4 separate regions of the Homo sapiens genome follow, and all the other regions are linked to region 2. The links are contacts of gene promoters, found by promoter capture Hi-C in blood cells and fetal thymus (Javierre and others, 2016). All regions are on one chromosome and are shown on one strand. The core of a region is centred on a gene start or on the middle of the fragment in contact, and the rest is flanking DNA. Distances in the headings are between cores, read along the strand shown. Region 1 holds the start of LINC01431 (long intergenic non-protein coding RNA 1431). Region 2 holds the start of MKKS (MKKS centrosomal shuttling protein). Region 3 overlaps XRN2 (5'-3' exoribonuclease 2). Region 4 holds the start of KIZ (kizuna centrosomal protein).

What was found. The method cuts DNA at HindIII sites, captures the fragments that hold promoters and counts their contacts. A CHiCAGO score of 5 or more calls a contact.
Region 1: a contact is called between the fragment with the promoter of LINC01431 here and the fragment with the promoter of MKKS in region 2, in 4 of 17 cell types (total B cells, naive CD8 T cells, non-activated CD4 T cells and 1 more). The highest score is 8.1, in total B cells.
Region 3: a fragment that was not itself captured here is called in contact with the fragment with the promoter of MKKS in region 2 in 1 of 17 cell types (total CD4 T cells); the score reaches 6.8 in total CD4 T cells.
Region 4: a fragment that was not itself captured here is called in contact with the fragment with the promoter of MKKS in region 2 in 1 of 17 cell types (total B cells); the score reaches 9.5 in total B cells.

The regions. Positions count from the first base shown.
Region 1 is chr20:23,356,858-23,359,557 of GRCh38, forward strand. LINC01431 (long intergenic non-protein coding RNA 1431) reads right to left here and starts at 1,270. Exons shown (of 3, transcript NR_109884.1): 1 at 1,098-1,270; 2 at 194-280; 3 at 1-112. RefSeq lists enhancers at 696-785, 976-1,365 and a silencer at 1,416-1,605. The HindIII fragment of the contact is 4,137 bases long and covers 254-2,700 here.
Region 2 is chr20:10,432,891-10,435,590 of GRCh38, forward strand. MKKS (MKKS centrosomal shuttling protein) reads right to left here and starts at 1,332. Exons shown (of 6, transcript NM_170784.3): 1 at 1,218-1,332. It overlaps SLX4IP (SLX4 interacting protein), which reads left to right and starts at 2,415. Exons shown (of 8, transcript NM_001009608.3): 1 at 2,415-2,563. LOC128706665 reads right to left here and starts at 1,332. Exons shown (of 3, transcript NM_001394148.2): 1 at 1,218-1,332. It overlaps LOC128706666, which reads right to left and starts at 1,332. Exons shown (of 3, transcript NM_001394149.2): 1 at 1,218-1,332. RefSeq lists enhancers at 1,179-1,238, 2,129-2,358, 2,519-2,568. The HindIII fragment of the contact is 4,604 bases long and covers 1-2,430 here.
Region 3 is chr20:21,305,735-21,308,434 of GRCh38, forward strand. The region is part of intron 1 of XRN2 (5'-3' exoribonuclease 2); the gene reads left to right. Among named protein-coding and RNA genes, the nearest start is that of XRN2, 3.8 kb to the left of the region's middle. The HindIII fragment of the contact is 4,700 bases long and covers 1-2,700 here.
Region 4 is chr20:21,124,042-21,126,741 of GRCh38, forward strand. KIZ (kizuna centrosomal protein) reads left to right here and starts at 2,041. Exons shown (of 13, transcript NM_018474.6): 1 at 2,041-2,163. The coding sequence starts at 2,075. RefSeq lists enhancers at 1,510-1,609, 2,510-2,559 and a silencer at 1,770-2,349. The HindIII fragment of the contact is 481 bases long and covers 1,137-1,617 here.

The DNA.
Region 1 (2,700 bases), core at 20-2,519, about 13 Mb after region 2:
GGCCACTCCAGTGGGGTAGGAGGTGGGCAGGGAGAACAGGGGCTAGGGTGGGAGGGGCAGGAGTTGGGTCCTGGGGGTGGAGGAGATGACGGGGAGAGTGGCTTGGAGAAATCTGCAAGAAGAGACATTGGAAGGCCGGGGGAGGTGAAATGGACACTGGGTGAAGCTGAGGAGTCCTAGTGAACCATGTTACCTCTGATCCAGATATTCCCAGAACAACAAGAAATCAAGCTTCTGAATGTGGTCTGTTGCAAGCTTGGAAGGTGCACACCTGTTGCTGCTAATTTGGACAATTTGGGGGAAGAGCAGAGATTTAGATGTTGCTTTGGTCGACCTTAAACACCAGCCCTGTCTCCCCTACCACTTTGCCAAATTAGGGCCCCGTCTCTCTAAAGAGCAAACAGAAAACTGCAGAAAGTTGCTTTGTCCTGTAGACAAGAGGCTGGGACTAGGTAAGAGGAGGGAGCCAGGATGCAAAACTTAAGACCAGCCTGGCCAACAAGGCGAAACCCCGTTTCTACTAAAAATAGAAAAATTAGCTGGGCGTGGTGGCAGGCGCCTGTAATCCCAGCTACTCAGGAAGCTGAGGCAGGACAATCGCTTGAACCCAGGAGGCGGAGGTTGTAGTCAGCCAAGATCGCGCCACTGCATTCCAGTCTGGGCGACAGAGCGAGACTCCGTAACAAAAAACAAACAAACAAACAAAAAATCTTAAACATCACCAACGAGCCTTGTGAGAAATGGTTTAACGTTGTGATACCTTGCCCAATTTTAAGGCAGGTAAAGGTGTGTGTTAAAACTCAACTCTTGAACTGAACCCCAGCTGCCCTTTAGGGCATGCTTAATTTGATGTGGACTGTAACCTCTTTTGCAGCATTGTAGAGATTTGGAATCTGCACATTAGGAAGAGACCCCACGAGGCGGTGGCGTTCTTTCTCGTTCGGAGCTCACACCCCTCCTGGGGAGCCCTCTCCCAACCCGGGCTCCCGGTAAGCGCGGTCGCCGCTCCTCTGAGGGCTGCTCTTCCCTCGCTTCTGAGCCGAGGCCCCCGCGACACGAACGCCACGCCCGAAGCGCTCTTGCCAGGACGTACTGACCGAGGGTAGGCTGCCCAGCCGGGTGGTAACGTTGAGGAAAGGACAGCAGCTTCGCAAAGGAGCTGGGTAAAACCACGCCCAGACCCCGCTGGCCACCAGCCCGAGACCAAGACGCAGGCGGTGGCGCCGGTTTCTCACTCAACCGCAGGTTCCAGCATCCCCGATACGGCCGACGTCATTACCCTGCGACCGCTCAGGACACTTCTGAGGACTCTTTTGACAGCTAGTAATCGCGCGGTGGCGCGACCACGTGACTCCGGCGCCCTAGCCCCGCCCTCCGTCTCCAAGGAGCCCTGGAAGGAGCTATACCAGCGGCTCCAGAAGGCGGGGAGAGGCGGGGCCGGACTCCGGGACAGCCAATGGGCGAGGAGTGCCGCCCAGCCTGACCCACCGGCCGCTCCCTCACGAGCCTGTGGGCGTGCGCCGGCTGTGCAGGTGAGGGGCAGCGAGGGCGCCTAGTGGGCAGGGCGCCGGCGTTGCGCGTGCGTCAGTGTTCTTCCTTGTGCAGTTTAGAATTTGATACATTTCTTTCCAGTCTATTTCTATAGATTTGTTTTCAAATCACATCAGACCCTATGTAAAATAGTGTACCGTCTTTACTCATTATAACATGGTGAGCATTTCCCCAAGCTATTACACATATTTTTAAACATTGTTTTAATGACCGGCATAATAATCCAGTGCTTGGATATATCAAATTCTTCGGCCATCTCCTTATAGGTGAGATTGTTTCCAAAGTTTCACTAATGTAAGTGCACTGCAGTGAACGCCCTTACGTAACAATTGTTCACTCCCGTGTACTTTTCTCGTGCAGAGTTCTACAGCATGAAACACTATATTTAACTTTGTCAGGTTGATGTTTATCAGTGGTTTATTATTGTTTTTATAGTATTCCATTGTCAGTGAAGTATGCCATTCACACTGTCAAGTGAATTGTCTATTTGTATTATTTAAAAAAAAGATCACAAACATAGAAAGGAGAGCTTTATTTCTTTAAACGGTGATAACCTGCAAGGTGGCCCTTCTGACAGGCTGGGAAGCATAGCTTCTGGCAGAAGCTCAAAAGGCAGGCAGCTGGAGGGAAGGGGGCCTAAGACAGGAATTTAAGCTGAAGGACTTAGCCAAGTACACATATGAACAGGCCACAGGAAGAGCTATGAATATTCATGAAACGGGTCCTGACCCATGCTTACTGGACAAACGTGCATGTTACAGGTGACCTATGTTTACTTTGGGGTGGACTCTTAGCATTTACAGGTATTCATGTATTACATTTAGACCCTATAAGTTGAAAGATCTTTTCAGGACACCGATGCACTTGTGTGCAGCCTCTGTAAACCGCCAGAATCAGCCCCTGTTCGGTTGTTTCCCATCAGGAAAAAGTTACTGCAGTCAGTCTCTGGTCCAATCAAAGCAGTAATTATTTGTGGAAGTGGTGGGGCTGGGGCAGGGGGCGTGTCAGTCAGCATGTGGAGGTGGATGAAAAGCACATTGTTTGAATATTGCTTATCTAGAGGCCAGTGCTTGTTTGGCTGCCAGAGAATAAAAACCTTGTGGCAGTTAAGGCATAGTTTCTTCTTGAAGTGTAGAGGTGCATGACAAC
Region 2 (2,700 bases), core at 82-2,581:
ATACAACGTTAAATGCTATGTAAGTAGTTGTTACACTGCAGTGTTTAGGGAATGACAAGAAAAAAGGTCTGCACGTGTTCAGTACAGATGTAACCATCTTTTTTCCCCCAGAATGTTTTTATTTATTTATTTTCTTAAATAGAGTCTCTGTCGCCCAACCTGGAGTGCAGTGGCGTGATCTCCGCTCACCGCAACCTCCGCCTCCAGGGCTCAAGCGATTCTCCTGCCTCAACCTCCCAAGTAGCTGGGATTACAGGCGTGCGCCACTGCGCCCGGCTCATTTTTTTGTACTTTTAGCAGAGACCGGGTTTCGCCACGTTGGCCTGGCTGGCCCCAAACTCCTGACTCAAGTGATCCGCCCGCCTCGGGCTCCTAAAGTGCGGGGTTACAGGGGTGAGCCACCAAACCCCGCCGCCCCAAAATATTTTCTATCCGCAGTTGGTTGAATTCACACATGCGGAACTCATGGATAGGGAGCGTATTGTTTCTCCCCCATCACTAGAACATGGAGTCAGGACCGTGCAAGTCCCTCTTGGTCACTGCCGTATCTACTAACTCGGCAGTGCTGTAGACACGTGTATATCTGTTTATGGATAAACTGAAGATGTTAATGAATGAATGAAACCGTCATATTGAGTCTCTGAAACGGCAACAGGATTTGGGTATGGTCTTATCGGGGAGGAAGACGAGCATGACCTTAGAGGGTCATCCCTACAAGGTCCACAGCCCTGCAAGCCCCGCGGCTGCTTTCACGTAGCTGGCAGGGCCACGCTGCACAACGTCTCTAACGCCGTCGGAGGGCGGCCCCCACCTCCCGACAGCCTGGGGTACACCGTGCACCCTCCAGACAGTCAGGGGCACACGGGGCCCCTCCCAGCGAGGGAGGGGACGGGGAGTCACAGGTTCGGCGTAGAAGGCGGCAGCGCAGGTGGGAGCGTGGTGAGGCGCCACTCCTCCAGCTCTCCCCACCGGCGGGAAGACCTCCTCGCCGCCCGCATCCGTGCCGACCGCAACATTTACCATCGGCAGCTATTTCAGAGGTCGGTCTTTCGCCTCCTACAGAGAGCCAGCCTCCTCCTTGTCCCCGCCCTCAAATATCCTTCAGTGAGGACACCGGTGACCTTTGGGGGTGGAGAGGGAGGCGCCTACAAGCCCCTTCCCCTCTCTTCGGCCGGACACAAAGCGGGCTTTTCCACCTAGAGTCCCAGCGCTCTCACCTGCGCACCAGCCGTCGCGCCGCCCCAGGCCGCCACCGCCAGAGGCCCCAGAAACAGATCTCAAGCAGCCGCTGCTGCCGCGGATCCCGACAACCTTCGCGTCGCGCGAGGGCACGGAGCACGCGCAGCTCTGCGGTCGACGCCGGGCCGCCCCCACTCCGCTTCTCCGGGTTTTCCGTGAAGCTCCAGCCAACAGCGGCCGTCACCGGAAAAAACGGGGAGCGAAGTTTATTCAGCGTATATTCCAGCAAATTGTTGAAACTGAAATTTTAAAAGAACGCATAAAATTTAAATAACATATCAAAATGGCACAGCTTCTGCCTTTTGGTGAGCGCTTGACAATGATTTATTGAATGAAAGAAAGAAATAGTCCACTGCGCTCTGCTCTCTGTCCTGACATGACCAATTACAAAGCGCTTGGATTTGTCGCTCAGCGCCAGTATCCCGCCTCTCTGTGCGGTTGTCTGGAAAATCAGGATTTTTACTCTCCCGTAACTCCCGGGATCGGGTTTGGAAAACGGACATGCGCCGTGAGAGCTAGTTGCCTTCTACTAAAGCATCCGCCCTCAGTCCTTCCTGAGGGCTTACAGGGAAGTGCGGAGTTTCGCAGCTCGTACTCTTCACAGATTAGATAATTCACCCGGCATTTCCCCATCCTGCTTCTGGGTTCCAGGACAAAACTTTTATTCTCTTTTAACATTAAAAAACATATAGGAAGTTATGTTCAAACATGGCTATTTTTATTAAAATTTATCCGGCACTGTGAAAGCTACCTTTCCTTTCTCACAATCTTTCGCACCGAATATATGTTCCATTCTTGAGCTAGTCATTTTCCAATGTTAAGAAAACACACCACAGAAAAGCGTTTTTTTTTCTCTCGGTCAGTTCAACTGCCTAGCACCGTGAGTTACCATGATACGTTATTTGCTAATGAGAGTCATTGGGGTCCCAGCCTTTAAAAATAGCCTGCGTCCGGCGCCATTTTTGTTTTGGGCCCACTTTGAAAGCCGCGATATTCTGAACAGAGGCCATTTTTCTTTTGGGCAGATTCCACGGGCCATCGAAGTGTTTCGCTGCCATCTTAAATCCTGGCTGTGGCCTCAATCCTGCAGCGAAGCTGCCCAGATCATTTTGTGTTTGGGCGGCGGCTGAGTTCCCAAACGCGCGCGGAGACCCTGGGAAGGAGGAAGTAAGCGCGAAAGTGCTTCCCTTAAGCTTCTGAAGGTTGGCTGCAGTTCCGGCTACCTGTGTAGTCCGAGTTTCCACAGCCAGGTACTACTCCGCCAGTGACCCTGGACAGTAACAAAACATATAAAGCCCGAGCCCAAACCCCGCCACCATCATAGGTAAGCACATGGACCTCTGACAACCTCAGATGTTCCTTCAAGTGAACTGAACTGTTTGCCCATCTCCTCCCTCCTGGTTTTTGGCTTTGATTTTTTGAGACTTTTCCGAATCCTTCTCCCTGTACTTCCACCTTTCT
Region 3 (2,700 bases), core at 100-2,599, about 11 Mb after region 2:
TTATTCTTAATTCTTTTTTTTTTTTTTTTGAGACGGAGCCTCGCTCTGTCTCCCAGGCTGGAGTGCAGTGGCTCAATCAATCTCGGCTCACTGCAAGCTCCGCCTTCGGGGTTCACGCCATTCTCCTGCCTCAGCCTCCTAAGTAGCTGGGACTACAGGCGCCCGCCACCACGCCTGGCTAATTTTTTTGTACTTTTAGTAGAGACGGGGTTTCACCGTGTTAGCCAGGATGGTCTCGATCTCCTGACCTTCTGATCCGCCTGCCTTGGCCTCCTTATTCTTAATTCTTAAGAAATGCTGTGTGGGATGTGAGATTTCCGAGTCATTGTAGGACCCAAAATAGCTCCATTCTACCCTTATACACGTGAATGATCATTAGCTAGGCATGGAATTCGAGGTGTTTTTTTTTTCTTCTTCTTTGAGACGGAGTCTAGCTCTGTCACCCAGGCAGGAGTGCAGTGGTGTGATATCGGCTCACTGCAGCCTCCACTTCCCGGGTTCAAGCCGTTCTCCTGCCTCAGCCTCCCGAGTAGCTGGGACTACAGGCGCGCCACCACGCCCGGCTAATTTTTGTAGTTTTAGTAGAGACGGAGTTTCACCATGTTGGCCAAGCTGATCTTGAACTCCTGACCTCAGGTGATCCACCAGCCCCTGCCTCCCAAAGTGCTGGGATTACAGGCATGAGCCACCGCACCTGGCCAGGAATTCCAGTTTTAATATTAGGTTCCCTCAGAACTTTGAAAGAAATTGTTCTTTTGTACTCTCTCATCTAGTAGTGTTGATGACAAGTTCGGTGTTAATGTGATGTATTTATTTAACCAGCAGTTATATAGCATTTACCATTGTTTTAAGAACTTTATTATAACTTGTTTGATCCTCACAACCACATGACTTCTACTGTTGTAATTATTTTTATTACATACAAATAATAGAAGCACGTTATTTGGAGACAACCAATATTGTTATTATGTTATAATAATTACTATGTTTATTGGCCGGGTGCGGTGGCTCACGACTGTAATCCCAGCACTTTGGGAGGCTGAGGTGGGTGGATCACGAGGTCAAGAGATCCAGACCATCCTGGCTAACATGGTGAAACCCCATCTCTACTAAAAATACAAAAATTAGCTGCGCATGGTGGCGCGCCTGTAGTCCCAGCTACTTGGGAGGCTGAGGCAGGAGAATCACTTGCACCCGGGAGACAGACATTGCAGTGAGCCGAGATCCCGCCACTGCACTCCAGCCTGGTGACAGAGCGAGACTCCATCTCAGAAAAATAATGATTATTGTTATGTTTATTATTATTTCAGATGAGAAAATGGAAACACAGCAGGGTCGCGTATCATACCCAAGGTCACTCAGCTGATAAATGTCAGAGCTAGTGTGGAAACCAGAAGGACTTAATTTTTATGCTCATATGCTTTCATTCTTTTGTGATCAGTTTTCCTTCCTAGATTTTAAAAAGATCTTTTTCTTGATAGTGTAAACTTTCATTATTAGGTACCCAGGTATAGATGTTATTTTAAATTCAGATTCATTTTGATCAGTACGTGGCTCACTCTTTGAGTCTGGAGTCTTACGTTCTTCGGTTTTAGGGAATGCTGTTTGATGATTTCTTGACCTTTTTTTCTTCCCTTTCCAGACTCAGGATACTGGTCCTCTTAGACTCATGTATTTTTATTTTTATTTTCTCTCTCATTCTCTGGCTTTCCTTGAAACCTCCCCCAACCTTTGGTGTTTTTGCAGCTTTGTTGAGGTATACTTGACATAGAATAAACTGCAGGTAATTAAAGTGTACAATTTTCTTTTAACTTTTTTCGAGTTGAGGTCTTGCTCTGTCACCAGGCTGGAATGTAGTGTGCAATCATGGCTCACTGCAGCCTCAAAGTCCTGGGCTTAAAGTATATAATTTAATACAGTGCATACATCTGTGAAACCAGCACAACCAAGACAGTGAACGTGACCTCTAAAACATTCCTTCTGCCCTTTTGTAGTTCCTTTCTACTATCCCTCCCTGCCACCTGTCTTTTGCCAACCACTGACTGGTTTGCTTTCTGACCGTATGATAAGTTTTCATTTTCTATAATTTTTTATAAATGAGATTATATAGTATATACTCATTTTTTGCCTCAGTTACTTTCATTCAGTATACTTATTTTGAAATTCTTCCGTTGTTGTATGTGTCAGTAGTTTATTTCTTTTTTGTTTTTATTTTTTTTTGAGATGGAGTCTCGCTCTGTCGCCCAGGCTGGAGTGCAGTGGTGCGATCTCGGCTCACTGCAACCTCCACCTTCTGGGTTCAAGCAATTCTCCTGCCTCAGCCTCCCAAGCAGCTGGGATTACAGGCACATGCCACCACACCCGGCTAATTTTTGTATTTTTAGTAGAGATGGAGTTTCACCATGTTGGCCAGGCTGGTCTTGAACTCCTGACCTCAAGTATCTGCCTGCCTCGTCTTTTAATTTTTGGATAGTATTCTGTGTGTAGATACACCACATTTTATTTATTTATTCAGATGATTGATGAACATTGGGATTGTTTCCAGTTTTTGGCTTTCTGAAAAAGAAACCTATGAACATCTCTGTACAAGTCATTGTAGGGACGTATGCTTGCATTTGTTTGGGGGAAAAACATTAGGAGTGAAATGGTTGGATTGTATATTAGGTGTGTGATTACTTAAAAAGAAAAACCTGCCAGACT
Region 4 (2,700 bases), core at 127-2,626, about 11 Mb after region 2:
CTGCCCATGCTGCTCCACGCAAGGCAAGGAGGTCCCAGGGCCAGATGACAGGCCCACCTGGGGTGCTCACACACATACACACACATGCTCTTCTAGAACACGTTCTAAGTACCCAACACCCTTACCTTCCCTGCTCAAAGGGGCCCAAGCTGCTTTCTAAGGCTTTAAAAGGCCTCTTGGCTGGGTCTTTCCTGCAAGGGTGACCATCACTGGCATGCTCACTGCCCGGCCAAGAGGAGGCTGAGGTGGGGATGTAGGCAGAGTTGGGACTTGCTGGCTGGAGAAGAGGAGGAGAAGAGGCAGGGCACACACATCCCTGCTAGTGTATGAGACCCCCTCACAAAGCAAGACTGAGCCTGGGGTGGGAAATGGAGTTGGGGGGAGCTGGAGAAGCAGGCAAACTAAATTCCACCCTGGTTGTCCAGGTTCTTAAGAAGGCATATTGGTCAAAGTGGAGAGGAGAACACGTATTTTACCTAAGTTTGTTATCTTGAATTATAATTCAATATTTAGGCGGATGGTATGAGGGCCTCCATTCACACTCTTGCCCTGGAACTGGCAAATGTGAATGGAAGGCTGAGTAAAATCATAGTTTTGTGTTGTTGGCCTTTGAGTGTTCCATCTCTCTTACAATTTTAGTTTGTCACACCTTGCACCTTGTATGTGTAAGTAAAATTAATGGCATAGGAAAGAAACCAAAAGAAGTGAACAATAAGAGACTAAAGAAACTCTACAGGCCGGGCATGGTGGCTCATGCAAGTAATCCTAACACTTTGGGAGGCCAAGGTGGGTGGATCACCTGAGGTTGGGAGTTCAAGACCAGCCTGGCCAACATGGTGAAACCCCGTCTCTCCTTAAAATATAAAAAATACCAAAAAAAACAAAAATTATCTGGGTGTGGTAGCGCACACCTGTAATCCCAGTTATTCAGGAGGCTGAGGCACGAGAATCTTTTGAACCCGGGAGGCAGAGCTTGCAGTGAGCCGAGATCACGCCACTGCACTCCAGCCTGGGCAACAGAGTGAGACTCTGTCTCAAAAAAAAAAAAAAAAAAAAGGAAAGGAAGGCAGAGAAGCAGGCTAAGGCTTAATTTTTCTGCCCAGTGGGTTTTGAAATATGGTTGGCTTCCTTCAGGAAGCTTTTTCCCGACGTTGGTGATGATAATAAAACCTGATGCTTTCTATGTGCTGGGCCCACTTATAAACACTAACACATATTAACAATCGAATCCTAAACTAATCCTGTGTTAACAGCCTCCCACTTTACATATGAGGAAACCTGGGGTGACTTGCACACGGCTTGGCAGCTGGGACGTGGATAGGGAATGTACACCCAGGCAGTCTGGCTCCCGGGCTCCTGCTAGAGGATCCTACAGGACATTAGGAGCATTGTCCCTTAGAGCTGTCTGCACAAACGTCTGCTTCCCAAGCAACTAGTTATCAACTTTTCCCTCTCGCCAACGATACTGGCACCTGGAACAATCCTTAGATTCAGCACGGATTTTCGAGTAAGGGGTTGGTCCACTGTCGGGGCTGAGCACGGCTGTTTAGCATTTGAGGGTTTGTCTTTTTTTACTTGGTGTTTTGTGTCGCTTTTGAGTGCTGATATAATAGAACAAGCTTAGTACAGTGCCTGGCACTCAACAAATCCTGGCAAGAAAGGAGATCGAGGAAAAGAAGCAAGCGAGAGACGAAAGAAAGGGAGGGAATGCGCCTTGTAACATTAACGTAGCTTGTGCGAATCCTGGAAGGTGAGGGGAAAGGAGACACCGCGTCAAGGGAGAGAGGAGAGGGCACCGAGCGCCCGCCCCTCCGACGTGGTCCGCCCCGGCCTCACGACGCCCCGCCTCTGCCACGCCTCTTCCCCGCCCCATGCAGGTCTTCGTCCCGCCCCCCACAAAGCCGGCTTCCGCCCCGTCCCTCAGCGGCGCCCCGCCCCCACGGCGTCTTGCCCCGCCTCCTGCAGGCGGCCCGGCGCGGTGTTTACCCGCGGTGCATGGTGGGGCGGTCTCCTTCGGCAACCCCGGCCGAACGGCCACCCAGAGGCTGTGCTGAGCTGGCGCAGCGGCAGCAGCATGAGCCGGACCCTCGCATCGGCCGTGCCCCTGTCGAGTCCCGACTACTACGAGAGGCTGGGCCAACTCCAGCACGGGCTGCGGGACAGGTAAGGGCACTGGGGCGGGGGTGGGGAGTCGGCCCGCGCCGGGGGTCTTCCGCGTGCCCTGCCCCATTTTCCTTCCCGCTCCCCCGTCCGAGGTTCCCCGGGGCCCAGGCCCGCGCGCAACGCCCCCCAGGCTCCCAGTGGGGCCTGGAGGACAGTGTTTACTAGAGCCACCCCCTGTATTGGGGGTGGGAGCGGAGAGAGGTGAGAGACCGCCCCCGCCCCGTCAATAGCAGCTAAAGCCTGGTCTACGGTTTGAGGATGCGGCCGCGTCACAGAATTTGCCCAGAAGTGAAGGTGGGAGTTCTTCTGCCTGTCACTCTCCATCAAGCCTTGTGAGTTTCTCTTGTCCCCTTTTACACGCCCCCTCCCCACTCTCTTCAAATTGCCATCCCGCCGTGACAGCTGCACTGCATCAATGATGACAAGTCCTGGAACGCAGACGGTTGTGTGTGTGTGTGTCAAACATGTGCCCCCGTTTAAACTCAGGAGACTTTTAGGGGTAGCGAGGGCTGGCTAGATTTCCAGCGAAGGGATGAA